Linked DNA regions of Homo sapiens: region 1 is linked to region 2. The links are contacts of gene promoters, found by promoter capture Hi-C in blood cells and fetal thymus (Javierre and others, 2016). All regions are on one chromosome and are shown on one strand. The core of a region is centred on a gene start or on the middle of the fragment in contact, and the rest is flanking DNA. Distances in the headings are between cores, read along the strand shown. Region 1 holds the start of FNDC5 (fibronectin type III domain containing 5). Region 2 holds the start of ZSCAN20 (zinc finger and SCAN domain containing 20).

The links. Contacts are between HindIII fragments. The CHiCAGO score rates a contact against its expected background, and 5 or more counts as called.
Region 1: the fragment with the promoter of FNDC5 here is called in contact with the fragment with the promoter of ZSCAN20 in region 2 in 3 of 17 cell types (fetal thymus, total CD8 T cells and total CD4 T cells); the score reaches 6.2 in fetal thymus.

Annotation. Positions count from the first base shown.
Region 1 is chr1:32,869,371-32,874,539 of GRCh38, reverse strand. It overlaps FNDC5 (fibronectin type III domain containing 5), which reads left to right and starts at 3,628. Exons shown (of 6, transcript NM_001441683.1): 1 at 3,628-3,887. The coding sequence starts at 3,650. RefSeq lists an enhancer at 1,004-1,860. The HindIII fragment of the contact is 9,260 bases long and covers 1-5,169 here.
Region 2 is chr1:33,469,554-33,474,891 of GRCh38, reverse strand. ZSCAN20 (zinc finger and SCAN domain containing 20) reads right to left here and starts at 2,247. Exons shown (of 8, transcript NM_001377376.1): 1 at 2,201-2,247. RefSeq lists a silencer at 3,990-4,284. The HindIII fragment of the contact is 14,362 bases long and covers 2,094-5,338 here.

The DNA.
Region 1 (5,169 bases), core at 2,379-4,878, 600 kb after region 2:
AGTCCCCTTGAGCCCTTCAGGGAAGGAGATTGATGTGATGTCCTCTGGTGAGCCCTGAGCCCTGGATCCTTGTCCTCAGAGGTCCTTAGAGGTGAGGGGATACGGTAGGCAGACTGGATCAAGCCCTCAACTTGCAGCCGCATAATTTAATTTGAGACATGTCTCTATAGTTCACTGGCTGTGTGACACAGGGCAAGTCCCCTTACCTCTCTGATCCTCAGCTTCCTGATATGGAATGGAAGTTAATGACACATACCAGCCTAAGACTCAAAATAACATGGATAAAGTCCGGGCGCGGTGGCTCACGCCTGTAATCCCAGCACTTTAGGAGGCTGAGGTGGGTGGATCACCTGAGATCAGGAGTTCGAGACCAGCCTGGCCAACATGATGAAACCCCGTCTCTACTAAAAATAAAAAAATTAGCCAGGCATGGTGGTGGGCACCTGTAGTCCCAGCTACTCAGGAGGCTGAGGCAGGACAATCACTTGAACCTGGGGAGCAGAGATTGCAGCAAGCCAAGATCACGCCACTGCACTCCAGCCTGGGCAAAAGAATGAAACTCCGTCTCAAAATAAAATAAAACAATAACATGGATAAAGTAGGTGCTCAATTATTATATCCCCAAAGCAACTCCTGACCTCCTGATTCTTCCTGTGATTTGCAGGGCGGGTGAGGGGTGTCTAGTGACCATCCTTGACTGGGGCCATGACCATCCTAGGCTATAAAAAGGAAACTTCCTATTCTAAATGGGTACCCGGGGCTGGCTTGGGCACCTGCAGCCTGAGTTAGGTGCTGAGACTCTGGACACGCAGGAGGGTCCAAATGCTGGTGACCCCATTAGGTGTCAATGTGTAAGTGACCGGCCAGCCCTCAAGGGGGTCTCTGTGGAGTCCTCCAAATGAAGCCCAGTGAGTGCAGCTTGGGAGGACAGAGGCGCACCCTTAGTCCCTACCCAGGTCCTCATGGTTTCACTCATTCTTTCACTGCTGTGTTTCCAGAATATTACACAGGGCCTGGTCCATAATAGGTGCTCAATAAACATATGATGGAAGAATGATTTTTTTTCCATACAGTCAACAATCATTTAATGAGCCCCAACTGCATCGTAAGCCTTGCGCTAAGGGATGGGGTACATAAAGTGGCTGGGTTTTTTTGAGATGGAGTCTTTCTCTGTCACCCAGGCTGGAATGCAGTGGTGTGCTCAGCTCACTGAAACCTCTGCATCCCAGGTTCAAATGATTCTCATGCCTCAGCCTCCAGAGTAGCTGGGATTACAGGCACACACCACCATGCCCGGCTAATTTTGTATTTTTAGTAGAGACGGGGTTTCACCATGTTGGCCAGGCTGGTCTCGAACTCCTGACCTCAGGTGATCCACCCACCTCGGACTCCCACAGTGCTGGGATTACAGGCGTGAGCCAGCGCCCTGGCCTGCAGTGGCTGCTTCTGACAGCTCCCTCCCAAGTTCACCCAGGGCTCCACTAAATCCTCCCAGCCAGCTCTCACTGGCTGCCAGATTCCAGGCACCAGGGCTTTCCCCAGAATTAAGGCCCAAGCACCCCATGCATCATGAGGACTGAGAAGGCTGTACCCCCACAGTCACAACTCTCCAAATCCTCCAAGCCCCCTCCTTCAGCCGCCTTCTCTCTCAAGCCCTCAGGCACTGCCATCTCCTCCCTCCCAATGCCCTACATCTATCTAGGTTTTACCCAAAGAGGCCAGCAGATGGCGCCAAGGTTCCCCTTTCCCCAGCGCTGGACTGGAGGCCAAGACCCCACCAGGACCCTCCCTCCTTTTCTCCCCTGCAGGGACGGGAGTAGATTCTGTGTCCTCTAACTGAACCCTCTCCTTCCTGCTGGTTCCTGTGCTGGAGGCCTGAAGAGGCTCCAGTTGCTCCTGCGGGCCTCCTGGTTGTCTTCCTGTCTGATGGATGGGGGGTGGGGGGTCCCTAGGGGCTAAGCTGCAGCTGGTGGGGCGGGGCCGGGTGGGGTGGGGCAGGCAGCAGCTGCGGGGAGAAAGAGAGAGAAGATAATAAGGGGAGAGAAAGAGAAAGAGAGCAAAGAGAAAAGAGAGAGAGAGGTGCTCTGGCTCCGGGGCTCTTCTCCCAAACGGGTCGAGGTCCCAGCTGAGGCTCTCCCAGGACAAGGTATGTGGCGGGGGAAATGATAGGGCTGGGCAGTGTCACCCTGCCGAGTGGGGCAGGTCTGGGGGCACTGAGGGGATGGGCAGGAAAATTCTGCTGCTCAACAAGAGCCCCTAAGCTCGCTTCCATCTCACCCCTTCCAAGGTGACCAAGGAGGAACACAGGGCCAGCGAAGGAGTCCTGGGTGGGCATAAGGAGAGGAGGGTTGTCTATCGCTCCTCTTGACCCACTGTGTGAATCTGCACCAAGCTCTTCCCATCGGTAGACCTCACTTCCTTAATGTAAAACCAGGGGGATGGAGAGGAAGACCCTGAAGACGTTTCTGTGGCAGAACTTTGCAAGACGTCTCCTTTCCAAAGAAAATTAGCCCTTCCAGGGCTTCTGGAAAACCTTTAAGACCCAAAGGAATGCCCCGCTAGTAGTGGAATTTCGGATAGTCGTGGGAGGGGGCTCAGGGGTTCTTGCTGAGACAAAAGGCCCTGAGCCCTGGTCCATGCCTCTCTCCTCCACCTTGTTTCTCTGGCTGAGATGAGGGAAGGGGGCTGGAGCCACTCCCCTTCTCAGAGATGCTCTTAGAGATTGCTGCAGACTGTTTTCTGGCTGGGGAGGAGCTGGCCCCGGCCAATTCTAGAGTCTCACGAATCTCCGGATGGGTGAAGTCACTCTGGGTGGGGAGACAGTTCAGTTAAGCACAGCTTTGGGAGTCAGATCAGCCTGTGTTCAAATCCTGGCTCTGCTGCGGGTCCCTGGACAAGTCAAGTAGCCTGTCCAAGCTGCAGGCTCCTCCTGTGCAAAGTGTGCAGAGTATGACTTTACAGGGTTGCCCTGAGAATTAAGCCACATAATGCAAAGAAAGCTCAGCATAGTATCTGGCCCCTGGTAGACGCTCATTACTGCCCTCACTATGGGGATGAAAATGAAGGAAAAGGACTGGCCTGGGGTCACAGAGCTGGACTCTCCAGTGAGACAGAGCAGCCTCTTCCCAACCCCACTGGAAACACGGAGCCCTAGTGTCCACTTAGCACTCTCTGCTCACCCCAGCCTTACTGTGATCTCTCCCCTCTGCTCCCGTCTGCCCCAGCCGCAAGGCCTCGGGTCTACCGTGGAATGAGGGGATCCCTAGGCCCAGGGAAGGGAGGCGCGCTTAGGGGTGGGGGCACAAACGGGCATCTCGGTGGCACTTGTCCTCTCTCTACCCTGGGAAAGGGCAGAAAGCGGCAGCCAAGTCAGGGCTGTGCACGGGAGAGAGAGTGACCGCGGCGGGGGCGCGGAGAACCCCGCTGGGCTCCCGCTCGGTGAGAGGGCGGGAGCCGTGGGTCCGCGAAGCCCCTTCCTCCCCGGCAGAGGACCTAATAGGCAGCGGGGGCGGGAGTGGGGGCGCCCTCCGGTCCTCACCCCGCCCCCGCACCTCTCCCCGCAGCGGGGGCGCCCCGCCCCCCGGGCGCCCGACGTGGACGCGGCCGCCGCCACCGCCGCCGCGCGGGAGTCGCTGTCCGCGGAGCCGACATGCAGGCGGCTCGGGGCGGCGCAGGGCGGCCGGAGCGGCCGGGCCGGCCGGGCCGGGGGCCGGAGCGCGAGCGCGAGCGGCCGCCGGGCGCCGGAGCCGCGTCCCCCTGCGCCGCCCCGGGCCTGCCGGCCGGAGGAGCCACCATACACCCCGGGTCGCCGAGCGCCTGGCCGCCCCGCGCCCGCGCCGCGCTCCGCCTGTGGCTGGGCTGCGTCTGCTTCGCGCTGGTGCAGGCGGGTAAGGGGGCCCGGGGCGGGGGGCCGGCGCCGGGGCAGGCTCCTCTCGAGCCCAGCTACCTGGGAGTCCCCTGGTCCTTTCTCTGCCCCCTAGGGACTCCTGTCTCGGCCCAAACACTGCTCCCCTAACCCAGCCCCCAGCGTCTTCCTACCTCCTTGACCCCCAGACCTGTCCTTCAGTTTCCAAATCTCCCCTGTCACCTCAGCCCTGGGTTTCCTAGGGTCTTGTGGTCCCCAGTCCCCTAATCCCATTCCCCTAACCCCAGGTCTTTGCCTCAGCTTCCCTAGCTCCCTTCTTTGACCCAGGGAGCAGCTGAGGACACCAGTTCCCCCACCTGGGCCTCTCTCTGTGTCCCCAGGACCTCTCAAAGCCCTGCAAGCCAACTCTGCAGGGGCAGATGGGGTCCCGCTGTGCAGGAGCACGTGTGAAGGGGATGGGGGCTGGCACCTGAGGGCGCAGGGCGTGGGGTGGGCCCCGGCACCCCTGATCTGGTACAGTGTCTGGCCTGCCCCATGGGGCCGGCCCGTCCTTGCCCAGCCTCTCCTGCCACTCTGTCTTTGTCCCTCCTGGCTGCCGCTGCCCGGCTCATCTCTCCCTCCGTGGCTCGGGGAGCGCTCTCTCGCAGCTGTCTTTCTCAGATGCCCCACTTCTCTGTCCTCTGGTTCTGTGTCTGCCACCACCTGTCTGTGTCCTGTCTCTCCACCTCCCCCTCCATGTCTGGCTCTGTCTCCCTCAGGTCCCAGGCCCAGCCCCCTGGGTCTCAAGTTCACTCTCTGTGGGGTGAGGGGTGCTGCTCAGGCGCAGCTCTGCCCCGTGCTGCACCTGCCCCTTGGAAGATACTGAGCCTTATGTGACTGCACTGCCCCTCTCCTGGACGGTTTTCCTCACTGACCCCCACTATCCCTATCACTCTCACCCCCACTTCCCTCCTGTCTCTTCTGGAGTGATTCCTCATTCATCCTCTTCCCCTACCTGTTCTCTCCTCTCCACTCGCCATGGAGGGGCCCTGCTCTGAGTGACCCCATCTTCCCCTGCCACCTCCCCACCTGCATCTTGGGGCTGGAAGAGCATGGATAAGAGGCTCACACAGACTCTTCCGCAGGCTTTATTCTGCCTGGGCCACCACAGCTCTGAGGATACTTCTGTTCTCCTCACTCCCAGTCCAGGGCTCACCCCAGCCTGACACTTCTCGATCTCTGGGTCTTTCTCCTTCGCGCAAGGTCACTCATTGGACAGGGCAGTATTGTCAAAAGAGCACTGGACTGGGGAGTCCTTTTGTCTG
Region 2 (5,338 bases), core at 998-3,497:
GCTACAAGTTTAAATGGGTATAAGGACCTAGCAATGTAAATGAGTCAATGACTGAAATGAACTGGGTGGGCACTACAGCCAACTATAGAGTGCCAGGGGAACATATGCCCAGAATATTCCTAAGCCTGCTGATTTTTCCAAAAGAAACTAGCACTCTGGATTTTTAAATGTTGGTAACCAACTCAAAATTTTTTCACACACTATGAGATTAAATAAAGCATGATGGTGGACTTCATTCAGCATGGGCTGTCGCTTTGCCACTTAGATTCAGCTAAGTGATCTCAAAGCTCTCTTCCAATATCCAGAAAGACCTAGAAAGAGTACAGAGCCTCCCAGGTCATGAGGGATAAGTGCTGACTGCCATCAAAATCAAGATGTCTTTACAAACACAGGGAAGCTGAGGGGCATCTTGACTCCTAGGGCAGTAAGTATGAACGTGGTCATGAGGAGCCCACTCAGTGAAAAGGGAAGAGAAGATGCTCTCCAGTTCCACAGGAAAGGCCAAGACTGGTCTGTGACCTCCAAAGAGAAAAAACTGGGAACTCTTAAAGGCTGTCAGGCCCATTTGGCTGACAGTCCAAGCTATGGCTTAAAGCAGTCTGACCTGACCTCACACATAAGGGCTTAAGCCAGGGAGAGCAAATAGGTTTCATTTAAAGCAGAAACTTCAATCAACTGGAAGTGGCTGCCTAGAGTAGTGTGCTGAGGGCTCTGAGTACAGTGTGAATATGTGCTGAGAACCAACCAATTAGCCATGACTGCCAGGGACACAGGAAGGGGCACTGGCAGCACACATTCCATGTATTTGTCACCCCTGGCTTAAACTCCCATTGGCAATGAATCAGCTTCAGCTTCCAGCAGATAGCCTTGCCAGGCAGAGGAAGACTAAAGCTCCTGCCCTGGAAATCCACTGGCAATAGAAGTCTTCAAGGCTGGTATAGCAAAGCTTACCCTGCATGGTCTTCATTCACACATACATACATCAAGTATTTACTGCTTTACATCAAGTGTTTACTGCTCTAGACTGGGCAATGGGGAAACAGAGGTGATTGAGACACTGTTCCTGTCCTGGAGATGTTCACAGTCTAATGGAAGAGACACACACTTCACAGATAATTATGATCAAATGTGGTAATAGGAGAAGTTATGGGAGCTGAGGGTTGGGGGTGACTTAATTTGCTTAAGGGAATTGAGCAAAGTAAGAGTTGAAATTTTTTTAAGTTAAAGAAGTTCTCTTGGCAAAGAAGGTGAAGGGCAAGGAGAGAATATTCTAAGCTGAGAGAACAGCATATATAATGATGGAAAACCAAATGGCCTACCCAGGAAACGAGGAAAACCTTGACAGCCCTGGAGTGTGAGGTGCATGAAGATTAGGCTGCAAAAGGAGTTTATGAAGGACAAGGTGTTTGGACTTTACAGGTGCTGGGTGCCAATGAAAGTTTTCAAGCAGAAGGCATAATCAGATTTGTAGGTGAAACAGATCACACTAGGTGCAATGTGTGTGTTCATGCTGGGAAACTGAAAAGGCTTCTGCGAAAACCCTACAAGAAAGAGGCCGACTGAAAAGATATTAAAGAAATTAAAGATCGGAAGATCCTTGGACGTGGAAGAATGCAAGAGGAATCAGTGGGTAAGTAGGTAGGTAGGTAGGTAAATGGGATGATCGTGCCACTGACTTCCATAAGACATAAGGAAAGAAGTGCAGGTTTGGGGCAGAACACAATAGCCAGTCCCATCCACTGGGTTCCAGAGGTAACAATCATTAGGGAGGTAACAAATTAGATATGCTTGTTCTAGATGGGAAGGTAGAGATTGAAACACTATTTTTAAGGTCGGGCTTCAAGCTCAGGCCCTCTTCACTTCTTGCCAGGGCCCCAGACCCTCTATCCTTTCCTCTGTGGTCTCCAGACCTTTCTATGACTCTCCCACCTCCAAAACCTCCCTCAACCCCCTCACCTTCAGACCCTTCTAAGGCCCTCCTCATTCCCAGGGCCCTCTATCGCCTCCTCATCCCCGACCCCTGTATGACCCTTCCCATCTCCGGCCTCTACATCCTTTGACCGTCCCTCACCCTCCACCCCCACATATAAGCTTCTTTCTCCCCTCTCACCTTCCCCAGCCCCCTGTGTCACCACCACCTCCTAAGTCTCCAGCCCAGAGCCTGCGTCTCAGCTGCCCCCGCCCCGCCACCCGGACTCACCCACCGAGACACCCACTTCACAACAGGGCGGAAGTGCTCCCGGGCTCGTGCGGGGAATGCTGGGACGCGGAGTCCGAGCGGCGCCACCCTGGGAATGGAACGTCTGAGACCACAATTCCCAGAAGGAACCGCGCGAGCGCCGGGGGCGGCCCCCTCCGTTTGCTGCCTTTCAGACGTCTTCAGCCAATAGATATGTCATCTTCTAACGGACCCTGGCACTGGAACAAATCGGAACGGGCGCGACACATGGGGGCGGGACCTGTTGCGATCCTGGCCTTTTCCATAGGCTTCCGGATAACAGCACCGCCCAATGGGAGGGCACTCGAGCAGAAGGGGGCCCAGTTCTACTGAGGGGTCGAAGTGAGAGCCTCAGACCCTGAAAGATCAAAGCAGACACAATAAGAAATAAGAAGAGAGAATGACTAGAGGTGACCAGCCCGATAGGCAGGAGAGAACTGGACAGTTGTAGCTTTAATTTCCAGCTTACAGCTAAGCTGTGTGACTTTGGAAGAATTCTGAACCTCGTTCTCTTCAACCATAAAATGAGGGTAGTAATGGCATCCATGTCACAGAGTTTTGTGAACTTTCAATGAGATAATACACCTAAAACGATTAGCTCAGGGCCTGGCTCCTAATAATGCACAGCGATTGTTAGCTATTATTATGTAAATCAGTTAGTACAGAGCTTGGCACTTCCTAGGTGTTGGAAGAATGTTAATCATTATTACAAAATAATCCTCATATAAATGCGGGTGCTCTGTACCACTGTGAATACTTTGGGGCATGAACAATCTAATGTGGTGTTGAGAATGGGGGCTTTGTAGTCAGACATGGATCCAAATCCCAACTCAACTACTTCGCAGCTGTGTGGCCTTGAACAAATTACTGCCATCTATTTTGTCTTTGGAATTTTCATCTATAAAATGCAAGTAATGTAAGAGAACTTACATCACAGGGTGTTATGAAGGTTAAATGAGACTATTTAGGTAAAAGTCTCTGAAGTCAAGCTGCTTGTGTCTGAAAGTTCTTACTTTCAAATGAAGGATGCAGGTCATACCACCCGCGTTGTGAAACCTTGGGCAAATTACTTAGCTTCTTTATGCCTGCATTTTCCCAGCTGTAAAATGGGAATGATAATACTTGCCTCTTCCTGAGACAGTTGTTGAGAGGAATAAATGGGAGAAGGTATGTAAAGAGCGTGACACATGTCTGACACACAGAAAGTGTTTAATAATCATTAGCTAGTCCAGGCACGGAGGCTCATGCCTGTAATCCCAGCCCTCTGGGAGGCTGAGACGGAAGGATCGCTTTAGTCCAGGAGTTTGAGACCAGCCTGGGCAGCGAAGTGAGACCTCGTCTCTATTTTAAAAAATAGAAAATACAATAATATACATAATCATTAGCTATTATTATTATTACCAATGGTTATGCGGCTTAGGGAAAATTGACAATACCTAGCATCTGGTAAGAGCTCAATGCATGTTGGCTAGTGTTAAAATAGGAGAATTCTTAGCTTTAACGACCCAGTTTAAATTCCTTCTCTGTGAAACATGTTCCAACTTATTTGTAGTAATAACTCATGTGATTTTACTCAGTAAACATAATAACAACCCGTAAATACTCCTTGGTGTTGAAGTCTCACAGTAGCCCTATGAGATTGGTATTGTTTGCTCCACTTTACAAAGAGGGAATGAGACTTAGAGAAACGAAGTGACCTACTCAAGATCACAGAGCCAATAAGAACCAGGGCTGCGATTTGTCACCCCCTAGGCATGTGACTCCAAAGGTCCTACACTGCATGAGGAAGAGACCATATGTGGAAGTAGGAGGGTTTGAGATGGGGAGGGACAGTGCAACAGTGTGGGGTGCCAAGGGAGCCGGAAACATTTGAGAGAGTGTCAGGATCTGAAGCTGGAGAGGCAGCTTTGCAGGGTCAGGTAAGGACGTGTCCACTTCAGCATCATCTGCCCTAAGAGGAAGAAGGGAGGCGAGTGTGCAGAGAGAGGAGAGGACATCATTAGGACACAAGAGGGCGCGCCTCGCCCTCAATACAGCCTCGAATTATTCTATGGTTTCCCTTAGCCTTTGTCTAATTAAAGCCTGGCATTCTACAGAAGAGAAAAAACTAACGAAGTCCTCAAGAGGCCAACTGCCCTTTAGTGCCGTGTAGAAATAAGCAACAGAGCCTGAACCTGTTCCAGGTTCTCTCTGGTTCAGCACCCATCAGGATTTGGTTTGCAAGCGTTCTGTCTGCATTTGTCTACCAGGACTCTCTCTGATTTGGGCAGACACTAGGCTCTAAGGATGCAGAGATGAAGCAAACCTGGTCTCTGACCCCAGGGCCTGATCTCTAAACTTTCCCAATAGAGCGCTCCCATAAGTGAAGCCTTTTTGAGTTTTTGAGTTGAGCACACACTCCCAACATATGTGTATTTATTTACTTATAAATGATGTGCCTGTAATAGCTAACTTTCCTTGAACATTTGCAATGCATTATTAGGTCCTTCTCTCAGTGCTTTATATGTATTAACTCATTTAATACATCCAAAACCCTTTGAGGGAGAGTCTAACACTATCCCATATTACAGAAAAGGAAACTATGGTATAGAGAGGTTAAATAACATGCTAACGGCACGTGGCTAAAAAAGCAGGCAGTCTAGCTTCAGAATAAGGTAAGATTTTTAAAAAATAGAAATAGAAGTTATAACAGTTTCTTTGCAACCATAGTGTGATAATCTTGTGCACTCAGCTTTGGAGACCACTATTTCTGTGGCTTTCAGGCCTGTGATCAGTCCTTTGAGAAAGGGAGGTGCAGGAAATTGTGGGAGCCCAGGGGCAACAGTTATCTAGGCTGGGAGATCAGGAAAGGCTTCTGAAGAAAGTGATGGCTGAACTGCATCTTAAATAATACTTAAGAGTTCCCCAGGGAAAAGGTATTTTTCAGTGCAAGAACAGCATATGCAATGGCCCAGAGACAAAAGGTGTGATGATGTCCTGGGACCCACAGGTAGTCTAGCATAGTCAGAGTACAGAGTGACAAGGGGGTAGGCTTCTCCTCCCAGTGTTGCTATGAGGCTTAACTGGAGATAGATGGGAACAGGCCTTCATGTTTTTTATTGAGGGAACAGGCAATCAGTC